Linked DNA regions of Homo sapiens: all the other regions are linked to region 3. Evidence: promoter capture Hi-C in 16 types of primary human blood cells and fetal thymus (Javierre and others, 2016). All regions are on one chromosome and are shown on one strand. Each heading gives the region's core, a stretch centred on a gene start or on the middle of the fragment in contact. The rest is flanking DNA. Distances are from core to core; before and after follow the strand shown.

Region 1 (3,561 bases), core at 921-3,420, 370 kb before region 3:
AGCTCAAGAGAAAGCCTCTAAAGAAGGAAACAAATACCAGCCAGTAGCAGCAAAACTATGAAAGCTGGAGAAAGGGATTCAAGATGTCCACTACAATACTGAATTAATGTGTGAATGTGTAAATGAATGAATGAAGAAGGAATATGTTTAAATATTTGTAAGTTTGATAGTGGAGACAGCTGGACTAATGAAAGGCAGGTGTAAGAAGCATGAATTTGATCCCAAGTGCCAGTGTGTACTTTCCTGAGCAGCGGGACCACACTGGGCTAAGCTTCCCCCTGCATCTTTGCTTCAAAACAAGGTTGGACTAACACTAGGCCACTGGATCTGCTGGGGACAGCATATGATGGGACAACTAGCAGAGCATGCCAGAAGGCTCTGCTCAAATTCTCAGCCACATACATTATCAATTAAAGATCCATTTGGATCTGTGGATTTCAACTAAAAGGACAAGTCAGTTGAATGGGGAGGAGCTAACTACAACCTTTTCCTCAAATTCTGCCTTGCCCCTTAAGAAACATCAGAATATTGGGGAACAGACAAATGTAATTTGTGAAATGTCCCCCCAGAAGTTAGCTAGGCACCCTACCCTTACCCTAATGATCAATAAGCTTCTCCTTTAGAATTTTAATTCTTCTTGAAATAACCAGATCCTAGAGACTCTGATTCAAAAACTGTTGTGTGAGTCCTGAGTATGCGTGTGAAATAACCAGATCCTAGACAGTGTGATTCAAAAACTTTGTGTGTGTCATGTTAAAAGTTGCCCAGACTCTTCTGAGTACATAGCCAGGGTTAAGAAGTTGGGCTTAGTCTTCCAATCACTCCTACTAGGAACACATTATTTCAGTAAGACAATCCGAATCTCTCCCCCTTCACATAAGCAAAGATACTGAAGGAAGGCAAGAATTTCCTCCTCAATTTTTAATTATGAAAAAAAAAATTTTTGAGACAGGGTCTCACTCTGTCACCCAGGCTGGAGTGCAGTGGTGTGATCATAGCCACTGCAGCCTTGATCTCCTGGGCTTGAGCAATCCTCCCGCCTCAGCCTCCCAAGAAGCTGGGACTATAAGCAAACGCCACCATACCCCGCTAATTTTGTGTGTGTGCATGGCAGGAGAGAGACGAGGTGTCACCATGTTGCCCAAGCTAGTTTCAAACTCCTGGCCTCAAGTGGTCCTCCTGCCTTGGTCCCCAAAGTGCTGGGATTACAGACATGAGCCACCACACCTGGTCATGAAAATTTTTATTTATACAAAAATGTTGGAAGAATGGGTATTATAAACACACATATGCCCTTCCGCTAGATTCAGTAATTGCTAATATTTTGTGTGTCACTTATTTACCTTATTCATATACATACATACACATGCTCATGCATGCATGCATATGGATAAATCAATATGTGCACACACATATTGCTGAGCCATTTGAAATAAGTTGCAGACAGCATGATCCTTTATCACTGAATATTTTCAGTGAGTATTCTGAAAACTAGAACCTTCTCCTTGATAACCACAATATCAGCATCATAGTATATCTGTCTGAGTTCAATCAGGAGACAGAAAACACACAGTTATTTGAAAGAGGAAGTTTAAAATAATTATTAGGCTAGGCATGGTGGCTCACATCTGTAGTCCTAGCACTTTAGGAGGCCAAGGGAGGAGAATTACTTGAGCCCAGGAGTTTGAGACCAGCCTAGGGAACACTGTGAAGCCCCATCTCTACAAAACATTTTTTTTAATTAGCTGGGCATGGTGGCACATGCCTGTAGTCCCAGCTATTCGGGAGGCTGGGACAGGAGGATTGCTTGAGCCTGGGAGGTTGAGGCTGCAATGAGCCATGATCACCCACTGCATTCTCCATCCTGGGCTGAAGAGCCTGCCTCAAAACAAACAAAAGAATTATTAAGGGGCCAGGCATGATGATTCAAGGCTGTAATCCCAGCACCTTGGGAGGTTGAGGCAGGAGGATCATGAGGCCGAAGTGAGCTACAATCGTGCCACTGCACTCCAGCCTCCTGGCCAACAGAATGATACCTTGTCATTTAAACATATATAGATAGATTAGATAGATAGATAGATAGATAGATAGAGATATAATTGAAAAGTAATTATAAAGATGTCGGGCCAGGCACGGTGGCTCACGCCTGTAATCCCAGCACTTTGGGAGCCCGAGGCGGGCAGATCATAAGGTCAGGAGTTCGAGACCAACCTGACCAACATGGTGAAAACCCGTCTCTGCTAAAAAAAAAAAAAAATACAAAAATTAGCTGGGCATGGTGGTGGGGGCCTGTAGTCCTAGCTACTCAGGAGGCTGAGGCAGGAGAATCGCTTGAACCCTGGGGGTGGAGGTTGCAGTGAGCTGAGATCGTGCCATTGCACTCCAGCCTGGGTGATAGAGCGAAACTCCATCTCAACTTAAAAAAAAAAAGATGTCAAGATAACTCTACTGAATCCACTAGAGCTGAGTGAGAGTACCCAGGGAAGGACCAGCTTGGAAGAGGGATGCAAACACGCCTGGGTTCAGACCTCATTGGAGAAGGCATGGTTGCAGCCAATAGATAGTGGAGAAGTCTGCTGGGTTTTCTGGGCCAGATCTAGTCCGCAGTCGCCAGGAAAGCAGAAAATAACCCACCTCCCTCTCCCATACAAACACACACACACCCAGAGCCAAGGCTGGAGGGCAGGTTTGCAGACAAAGTCAGAACGGCTCCACACACACAAGGTTGGAGCACACAGTGTTGTTGGGAGTCACATCAAAGGAGTTCACCTGGTCTGGACTGAGGCTGGAAGGTCAGGATCTGGCATGCAGCTGCGGCAGTGTACCACCAGATGTACCCAGACACACATGCACCACTGACCAATTGGACAGCTGGAGCAAAAAAAGCAAAACATAGCACTCCAAAAGGAGGAAACAAAGCCCCCTTCCTCCCACAGTATCCCTCCTGTGCCCTCTATTGACAAAGTTAACATCATGCTAATAAAGAAGAAATACTTGGAGAGTCCAGTCCATTATTGTAGAGCAGTACTGAAGTGTGAATTGGAGCTGAGGCAATTGATAGTTGACACACACACATAATAAAATTAATAATTCCCTGACGATGGCTATTCTCAGTCCAGATTCAAATTTCTCCAATTGTGCCAAACACATCTTGTATAGTTTTATGAGGTTTTTTAACCAAGATCCAATCAAGTCCTTTTAGTCTCATTTGATTCAGAGCAGTCCCTCCCAACGTTTCTGTTTTAATGACATTGATCTTTAGAAGAAATTAATTGACTGATTGAGTTTCATTCTAGATTTGTCTGTTTGTTCCTGGTGTTAATTTTCTGTCCCCTGAATTTCTTGTAAACTGGAAGTTAAATCAAAGGTTTGACTACAGCCAGGTGAAATGTGTTTAAGAAGAATACTTCATGAGTTACACTGTGCACCTCACATTGTAACACATCAGGGACAGAGGGAGTGTTGGCTTCCCATTATTAAGGCAAGGAACTTGATCTCAGTTAAAGTAGTGATGGCCAGATACCTCCACTGTAATGGCGTGGTCTTCCTTTTGCAATTAGC
Region 2 (3,734 bases), core at 266-2,765, 270 kb before region 3:
GAAGAAATGGGAAATGTTGAACATTTGGAAGCTGCAGCTAATATGGGATTGTTCTTTGGGGGCGGGTCTCTTAGTCACAGTACTGTGACTGTATTGATACATGTAATCTGAAGAGAATCTTAGAATATTTCCACCAGAAAGGTTTTTGGAGATAAACTAGTTTTCATTTTTATAAATGTGGAAACTTGAGTCCCAGATCACCATAAGTGACTTATCTAGATTCATACAACTTGTCAATGGCAGCCAGGAACCTGACATGCTTAGCATAGAAATCAGACTATCAAGAACTATGACAGTAAAGGAGGAATTCTCTGTTATTTTGGAACCGTATACCGCTTTTTACAGCCCAGTCAAGATGTAGGAAATTGCTTCTTACTTCGGAGAAAGGCACCAGCGAGCAGTGTTACAGAGCTTGATTAGAATGATCCCTGGTAAGAAGTGCTATGTTACTACAAGTTCACCAAACCTAAAATTGTGGGAGGAAAGTATTCTTGTTTCTTAGTTAAGTATTGGTGTAAAGAGTTCCTTTTAACATCTGAAATCAAGAGGCAATTGAAGATTTCAAAGGACCCATCAGGAATTTTGGAGTTCAGGGCAGGCAAAGAAAATCTTTAGAAAAGATTTTAAATGGCCTAATTCTTTATATGCTTTGCCACATTTTTCTTCTGCTAGTTCATCTTTACACGTCACTATATAGGCTTCTGGAGAATAGCATGTGTAAATTTAAGTAATAAAGATGAACCATGTGGCAATACAGTTGTTCTTTAGGTACAATTATGTGATTGATTATGGGGGTGGGATGGAATAGGGGCATTTGTGACCTAATAGTTCCCTTTTCCCTGAGGACTAGGACGATAATGTTTCTGTATATGGATTTGTTAGGGCTTAATAGTTTTCCAAGTGCTTCAAGACATGTTAGCTAATTGGATCTTCACAGGAACTCTATGAGGTAAGCAGGATAGAAAGGTGGCAGATTATTGGTTTATAGGTGAAGAATCTGAGGTTGGATTATTTGCCAAGATCACATGGTTAATAAGGAGCATAGCCTGGGCCAAAGCCCGAATCCCTTCACTCCCAGCTCTCTAAGTGCTGCTGACAGATGTTTGCTGATTATGGTGTGAAGTTGTATACTTTAGTATTTCTTTCTGAGACATACAAACCCCTGTAGTAAAATTCTTTCCACTACTACCAAAGAAGCTCAAAAAACTTAAAATAGGCACTTATTGCTTCCAAAAGTACCACAGAAAGCCAGGAATCTGTATTCATTGCCTAGCCACTTGATTCTTATGACAAAGATTTTGAAACTCTGGGGAAAGGCTATGTGTCAACTTGTTTTATGTGTCATGATTGTTAAAATGCTAGAGAAAACAGCAAAGAGCCAGTTAAATCTGTGTCTGCTCAAATAAGACAAGGGGCAAGAGTGTGGAAAATCCAGAACAAGATTCCCTGAGAGATCATCTAGACCCCGTTCTTTCTAGTCAGAAGTATAGTTGTGATTAATATGACATTAATCTTTTGCAAAGTTTAATTCTTGGATTCAGCCATCTGCTTTAATTTTAACACATCTGTTTTGTAACCTAAAATAATTTTAAGGTGTTTGTTTATTTGTTTGTTTGTTTTGAGATTACGATTCTTAAGAATAGATACAAGTTTTAAACCTTGGATAAAACTAATTTTTATTCTTCTGGTTCAGTTGTAGAACAAATACAGGTTAAGTTGTCTTCCAGCTCTTTTAGATAAAGCAATATTAGTGGTTTTATAGTGCTAAGTGAAAAGAGACATTAGAATTTCACCATATTAAACTATCTCCCAAGAGTAATATGAGTGAGGGAAGTGTTCCTTTTAAAAGTCATGCTTCTAGGCTGAGCATGGTAGTTCATGCCTGTAATTCCAGCACTTTGGAGGCCAAAGCAGGAGAATTGCTTGAGCCTATGAGTTTGAGGTTATAGTGCACTATGATATCATTACCCACTACAATAAAACACGAAGTTCAGATGGTCATTCACTAGGGTGTGTGATATTTTGGAGTATAGACCTTAAGTGATTATGACATATCAAAATAATGTGGTCTTATGTTTCTTTTTTTTTTATTGCAGATTTCATTGAATATACTTCTATTAACAGCCTGCTATATATCAGGCATTCTGATAGGTGTTGGAGATACAAAAAATGAATAAAGCAAAAATAGTTCCTGCCCTCACAAACAAGTAAATAAGTGATTCATCTATAGTGTGATTAGTACTGATAGAAATATGCCATTTTGTGTGTACATTATTACTACCTTCCTTTTGAAGATTAGGCTTTTTTGTTAGACTCTTGAAGTTATGGACCTTTTGGATGGAAAATACATGTCATATATGCCATCTCTCCTCCTCTATGACCAATATCCGTGATCCCTCATAGCATTCCTGATGAATTTAGCCTCAGAGTTTTTTTTGAGAGGGAGTCTCGCTCTTGTTGCTCAGGCTGGAGTGCAGTGGCGTGATCTCGGCTCACTGCAACCTCTGCCTCTTGGGTTCAAGCGATTCTCCTGCCTCAGCCTCCTAAGTAGCTGGGATTATAGGCATGCGCCAACATGCCCGGCTAATTTTTTTGTATTTTTAGTAGAGATGGGGTTTCACCATGTTGGCCAGGCTGGTCTTGAACTCCTGAGCTCGTGGTCCACCCACCTCAGCCTCCCAAAATGCTGGGATTACAGGCTTGAGCCACTGCGCCCGGCCAGCCTCAGAGTTCTTAATACAGCATTATCAGCCCTAATAGCCCTAGTCTGCCAATTGAAATTGGCATTGTCATTATTAGCCTATTTCCTATACTCTAGTACCTATTTGAGTTATAAGTTTATAACTTTTAAATTGTTTTGGTATCAAAAGGAATTTTTTTTTAGGGTTTTGCTCTGTCACCCAGGCTGGAGTGCAGTGGCATGATCATAGCTCACTGCAGCCTCCAAGTCCTGGACTCAAGCAATCCTCTCACCTTAACTTCCCAAGTAGCTAGGACTACAGGTATGCACAACCATGCCTAGCTAATTTTTGTATTGTTTGTAGAGATGGGGTCTTGCTATGTTGACTAGGCTGGTCTTGAACTCCTGGCCTCAAGCAATTCTCCCTCTTTGGCCTCCCAAAGTACTGGGATTACAGGTGTGAGCCACCATACCTGGTCAAATTTATTCAATTTAAAGTTTTTGGCAGACCAGCACCTGACAGCAGGTTTCTCTCTAGATATCCTGGGTTTGGGTACTTGTAAATAGAGACTGGCTCGGTGTGGTGTCTCATGCCTGTAATCCCAGCACTTTGGGAGGCCTAGGCAGGAGGATTGCTTGAAGCCAGGAGTTGGATACCAGCCTGGGCAACATGATGAGGCTCTATTTCTACAAAAAATAAAATTAGCCAGGCCTGGTAGCATGTGACTGTAGCCCCAGCTACTCAGGAGGATGAAGTGGGAGGACTGGTTGAGCCCAGGAGTTGGAGGCTGCAGTGAGCTATGATCATGCCACTGCACTCCAGCCTGGGTGACAGAACAAGTCACTGTCTCAAAACAAACAAACAGAGACCAAGGAAGCAGAGCATGGGAAACAGCAGTGGATGCAGCTACTGGTGGTTATGTGTAATTTGGATATAAACTCCTTACACATTATGGCCCGGGAACTGTAAGAATCAGGTTCCTCCCTGGGCTATGTTTTATTTACTTTTGAAGACTTTTTCTCCAGGTTTTTGTAGGTTTTGGCATTAATTTTG
Region 3 (4,147 bases), core at 690-3,189:
ATCTGAATGGAAAAGAGAATAGTTGTGTATTAATACCAGAAGCATGAGATGATTTGAAGACAAAGGCAGTGTAAAAGAAGGTTCAGCAACAAGAATGAGAGGAAAACAGCTCAATGAGTCAATTTCCTGGAAAGAAATAGAAGACTAATTTAAGAGGTTGAGCGTAGTGTTCAGTAATAGTTGTAATGAACATTAGTAATCAGAAAAGGATAATGAGGAATCATTGTTGATCAGTTGTCTCTAAGAACAGCAACTCCTAAATGAACAGAAAGACTAAACTTTGTTTTGCTGGAGATAGGAATTTTTTTTTAAACCATTCAACCTGAGAGTTACAGTGTACTATTTATATTTGCTTGTTTTGTTGAAGTCAGTTTAGTTTCCTTCAGTTTTTAGAATGTGAGAAGTGAGATTTTATTTTGTCATTTTTCCTTAATACAGTTTCCTAAAAATTTTACCTTTGCATCCTAATAAGTGTTCTTTACTGCTTTGGATATTTTTGGCATAAAGAACAAAATTAATTCATACTCTGGTTATATTACTTTGTGGGTTTTTTCTCTTTAATTTTATTTTTATTTCAAAGGACCCTTTCTCTGAATTTTTCCCAAGAAATTGAAAAATCCATGGGACAAGCTTCATATCACCTTGTATATTATTGGAAGTACTAAACAAAATGGACCTGAGAAACATAGCCCCTACCTCAAATTCATATCATTTCTGTCACTTGTTTTGTTTTCCATTTTTAATGCATAAAATAGCAATAACAGTAACCAGCCATAATGGATAGGTGTAAGAATCATAAGTCATTTTGATAACGATCTGCTATCCAGTATGCATTGCTGAATTTTTAGTCATAGAAAGATAATGCTAGGTATTATTTCAGCTTTCTAATATGGACATAATTCATATTATTTCTAAAGTAATTGTTGATGTGAAATGAAACTGCTTTAATATCAAAGGAGAGTTGTATACAATTATATAACTTGATATTTTAGGAATATTATCAGGCTATTAGTAATATTAATAAAAGTCAGAATTAGAAAGCTTAAGCAACTAGCTTAAAGTTAATGAAAGAAAGTTAATGACTGAACAATATATAATATAAACAATTTATATCCGATTCTTTAAATTCTTGAAAAATGACGTTAAAAAATTCTCCATTTTTGTTCTAAAAGATTCAAACTGATACAGATATATATAGGGCGAAACATCGCCTCTTTTACTCTCCCCAATTTTTCTTGCAAAGATAACCTATGTCAGTAAGTTGGTATGCAGCTTCTTAACATCTTATAACCCAACACAACCAATTAGTGCGTTACTACTAATTAGTAGCTTACTACCAATTAGTACCTCACGTATTAAGTAGTACTCAGTATTTTTTGCAACCAAAAATATTTTGAAAATTTTAAAAAGAGCACTGGAGGATAATATAACAACATTTATGTTCATTCTAAATTTTTTCCCCTATTTTTATTAAAGGAATAAAGCATAAAGTTTAAGTCTTCAATGCGTATTTAACACAACATAAATATTTTATTCATTAAAAAGTTTACAAAAAATTGTATTACTCGATATACATCTTATTTGAACTAGCCTTTTCCATTCAGTAGCTATGTTGTTTGATAGCTAGAGTCTGTTGATTGATATTTGGGTTCTGAATAACTAATGTTTTCAAGTATCCTTTAAAAACTATTATTTTTATATTATAGGAGATATTTCAATGTGTATATTAGGAAAACTCTAACTGCATTCTGAAAAAATAAGTTCCTGAGATTTCCGTTCAGCAATACTTTTGAAACACAGATAAAATTACTTCCTGTCTCTTAGCTTCCTGTATCCATGGCAACCTCTGTTTTACACATTGACTGTAAAGGAACCAATGTGAAGAGTGGTGTTTCCTGAGCAAACGGTGACTTAAAAAAAAAAAAAAAAAAGTGGTGGGGTGGAGGTCAGCAGTGCCACAGAACAAACTGGAGTTAAGAAATGTCGTTCTTCAGATTTAAAAAGAAAACCTTTACTGAATCAGCTGAGTGTTAATAATACGAATTTCCTTTTCTTGGTAAGATTATTTACTTAAATATGAACTTCTAGCTGACATGAAAAATAGTTCTGTGAAAAACTGTAATTTAGAATTTAATTGTTCTGTAGTGAATTTGTATTTTCATAAATTATAATGTTATTTGATATTAGACTTTATGTTGTTAAAGGGACATATTAAATTCAAAGATTCTCATTCCTACATCATTTGTCACCTGTGTTGTAATCAATTGTAATTTTTAAGTTAACTTAGCAAATGTTTCATTAATCTGAACTATTTTGTCAAATAGTGGGTTAATGGCCTGATCATGTTAATAATTCTAGAACGTATTCCATACTCATTATTTTTTGCTATTACCATGGTATGATTTATGATAGTATTATTGGCTGATCCTAATTAAAATAGAATACAGAAGTTATAGTATTATAAAAAAAATTCATTTGATGAAGTTTTCGTGATTTAAAGCTTTACCTTCTCTTTTTATAGCCAATTCTGATCTGAACAGAAAATCCAAGAACAGGGATATGTGTGGATTACAGTTTTCTCTGCCTTGCCTACGACTGTTTCTGGTTGTTACCTGTTATCTTTTATTATTACTCCACAAAGAAATACTTGGATGTTCGTCTGTTTGTCAGCTCTGCACTGGGAGACAAATTAACTGCCGTAACTTAGGCCTTTCGAGTATTCCTAAGAATTTTCCTGAAAGTACAGTTTTTCTGTATCTGACTGGGAATAATATATCTTATATAAATGAAAGTGAATTAACAGGACTTCATTCTCTTGTAGCATTGTATTTGGATAATTCTAACATTCTGTATGTATATCCAAAAGCCTTTGTTCAATTGAGGCATCTATATTTTCTATTTCTAAATAATAATTTCATCAAACGCTTAGATCCTGGAATATTTAAGGGACTTTTAAATCTTCGTAATTTATATTTACAGTATAATCAGGTATCTTTTGTTCCGAGAGGAGTATTTAATGATCTAGTTTCAGTTCAGTACTTAAATCTACAAAGGAATCGCCTCACTGTCCTTGGGAGTGGTACCTTTGTTGGTATGGTTGCTCTTCGGATACTTGATTTATCAAACAATAACATTTTGAGGATATCAGAATCAGGCTTTCAACATCTTGAAAACCTTGCTTGTTTGTATTTAGGAAGTAATAATTTAACAAAAGTACCATCAAATGCCTTTGAAGTACTTAAAAGTCTTAGAAGACTTTCTTTGTCTCATAATCCTATTGAAGCAATACAGCCCTTTGCATTTAAAGGACTTGCCAATCTGGAATACCTCCTCCTGAAAAATTCAAGAATTAGGAATGTTACTAGGGATGGGTTTAGTGGAATTAATAATCTTAAACATTTGATCTTAAGTCATAATGATTTAGAGAATTTAAATTCTGACACATTCAGTTTGTTAAAGAATTTAATTTACCTTAAGTTAGATAGAAACAGAATAATTAGCATTGATAATGATACATTTGAAAATATGGGAGCATCTTTGAAGATCCTTAATCTGTCATTTAATAATCTTACAGCCTTGCATCCAAGGGTCCTTAAGCCGTTGTCTTCATTGATTCATCTTCAGGCAAATTCTAATCCTTGGGAATGTAACTGCAAACTTTTGGGCCTTCGAGACTGGCTAGCATCTTCAGCCATTACTCTAAACATCTATTGTCAGAATCCCCCATCCATGCGTGGCAGAGCATTACGTTATATTAACATTACAAATTGTGTTACATCTTCAATAAATGTATCCAGAGCTTGGGCTGTTGTAAAATCTCCTCATATTCATCACAAGACTACTGCGCTAATGATGGCCTGGCATAAAGTAACCACAAATGGCAGTCCTCTGGAAAATACTGAGACTGAGAACATTACTTTCTGGGAACGAATTCCTACTTCACCTGCTGGTAGATTTTTTCAAGAGAATGCCTTTGGTAATCCATTAGAGACTACAGCAGTGTTACCTGTGCAAATACAACTTACTACTTCTGTTACCTTGAACTTGGAAAAAAACAGTGCTCTACCGAATGATGCTGCTTCAATGTCAGGGAAAACATCTCTAATTTGTACACAAGAAGTTGAGAAGTTGAATGAGGCTTTTGACA

What was found. The method cuts DNA at HindIII sites, captures the fragments that hold promoters and counts their contacts. A CHiCAGO score of 5 or more calls a contact.
Region 1: a fragment that was not itself captured here is called in contact with the fragment with the promoter of LRRC70 in region 3 in 2 of 17 cell types (naive CD8 T cells and naive CD4 T cells); the score reaches 5.0 in naive CD8 T cells.
Region 2: a contact is called between a fragment that was not itself captured here and the fragment with the promoter of LRRC70 in region 3, in 1 of 17 cell types (fetal thymus). The highest score is 5.8, in fetal thymus.

Annotation. Positions count from the first base shown.
Region 1 is chr5:62,208,792-62,212,352 of GRCh38, forward strand. No RefSeq gene overlaps it. Among named protein-coding and RNA genes, the nearest start is that of KIF2A, 96 kb to the right of the region's middle. The HindIII fragment of the contact is 3,122 bases long and covers 610-3,561 here.
Region 2 is chr5:62,310,933-62,314,666 of GRCh38, forward strand. All of the region lies in intron 1 of KIF2A (kinesin family member 2A), which reads left to right. Among named protein-coding and RNA genes, the nearest start is that of KIF2A, 6.6 kb to the left of the region's middle. RefSeq lists an enhancer at 3,430-3,734. The HindIII fragment of the contact is 5,853 bases long and covers 1-3,734 here.
Region 3 is chr5:62,576,880-62,581,026 of GRCh38, forward strand. LRRC70 (leucine rich repeat containing 70) reads left to right here and starts at 1,940. Exons shown (of 2, transcript NM_181506.5): 1 at 1,940-2,056; 2 at 2,522-4,147. The coding sequence starts at 2,560. The region is part of intron 27 of IPO11 (importin 11); the gene reads left to right. IPO11-LRRC70 (IPO11-LRRC70 readthrough) reads left to right here and starts at 1,856. Exons shown (of 4, transcript NR_073584.1): 1 at 1,856-2,056. The HindIII fragment of the contact is 1,459 bases long and covers 1,040-2,498 here.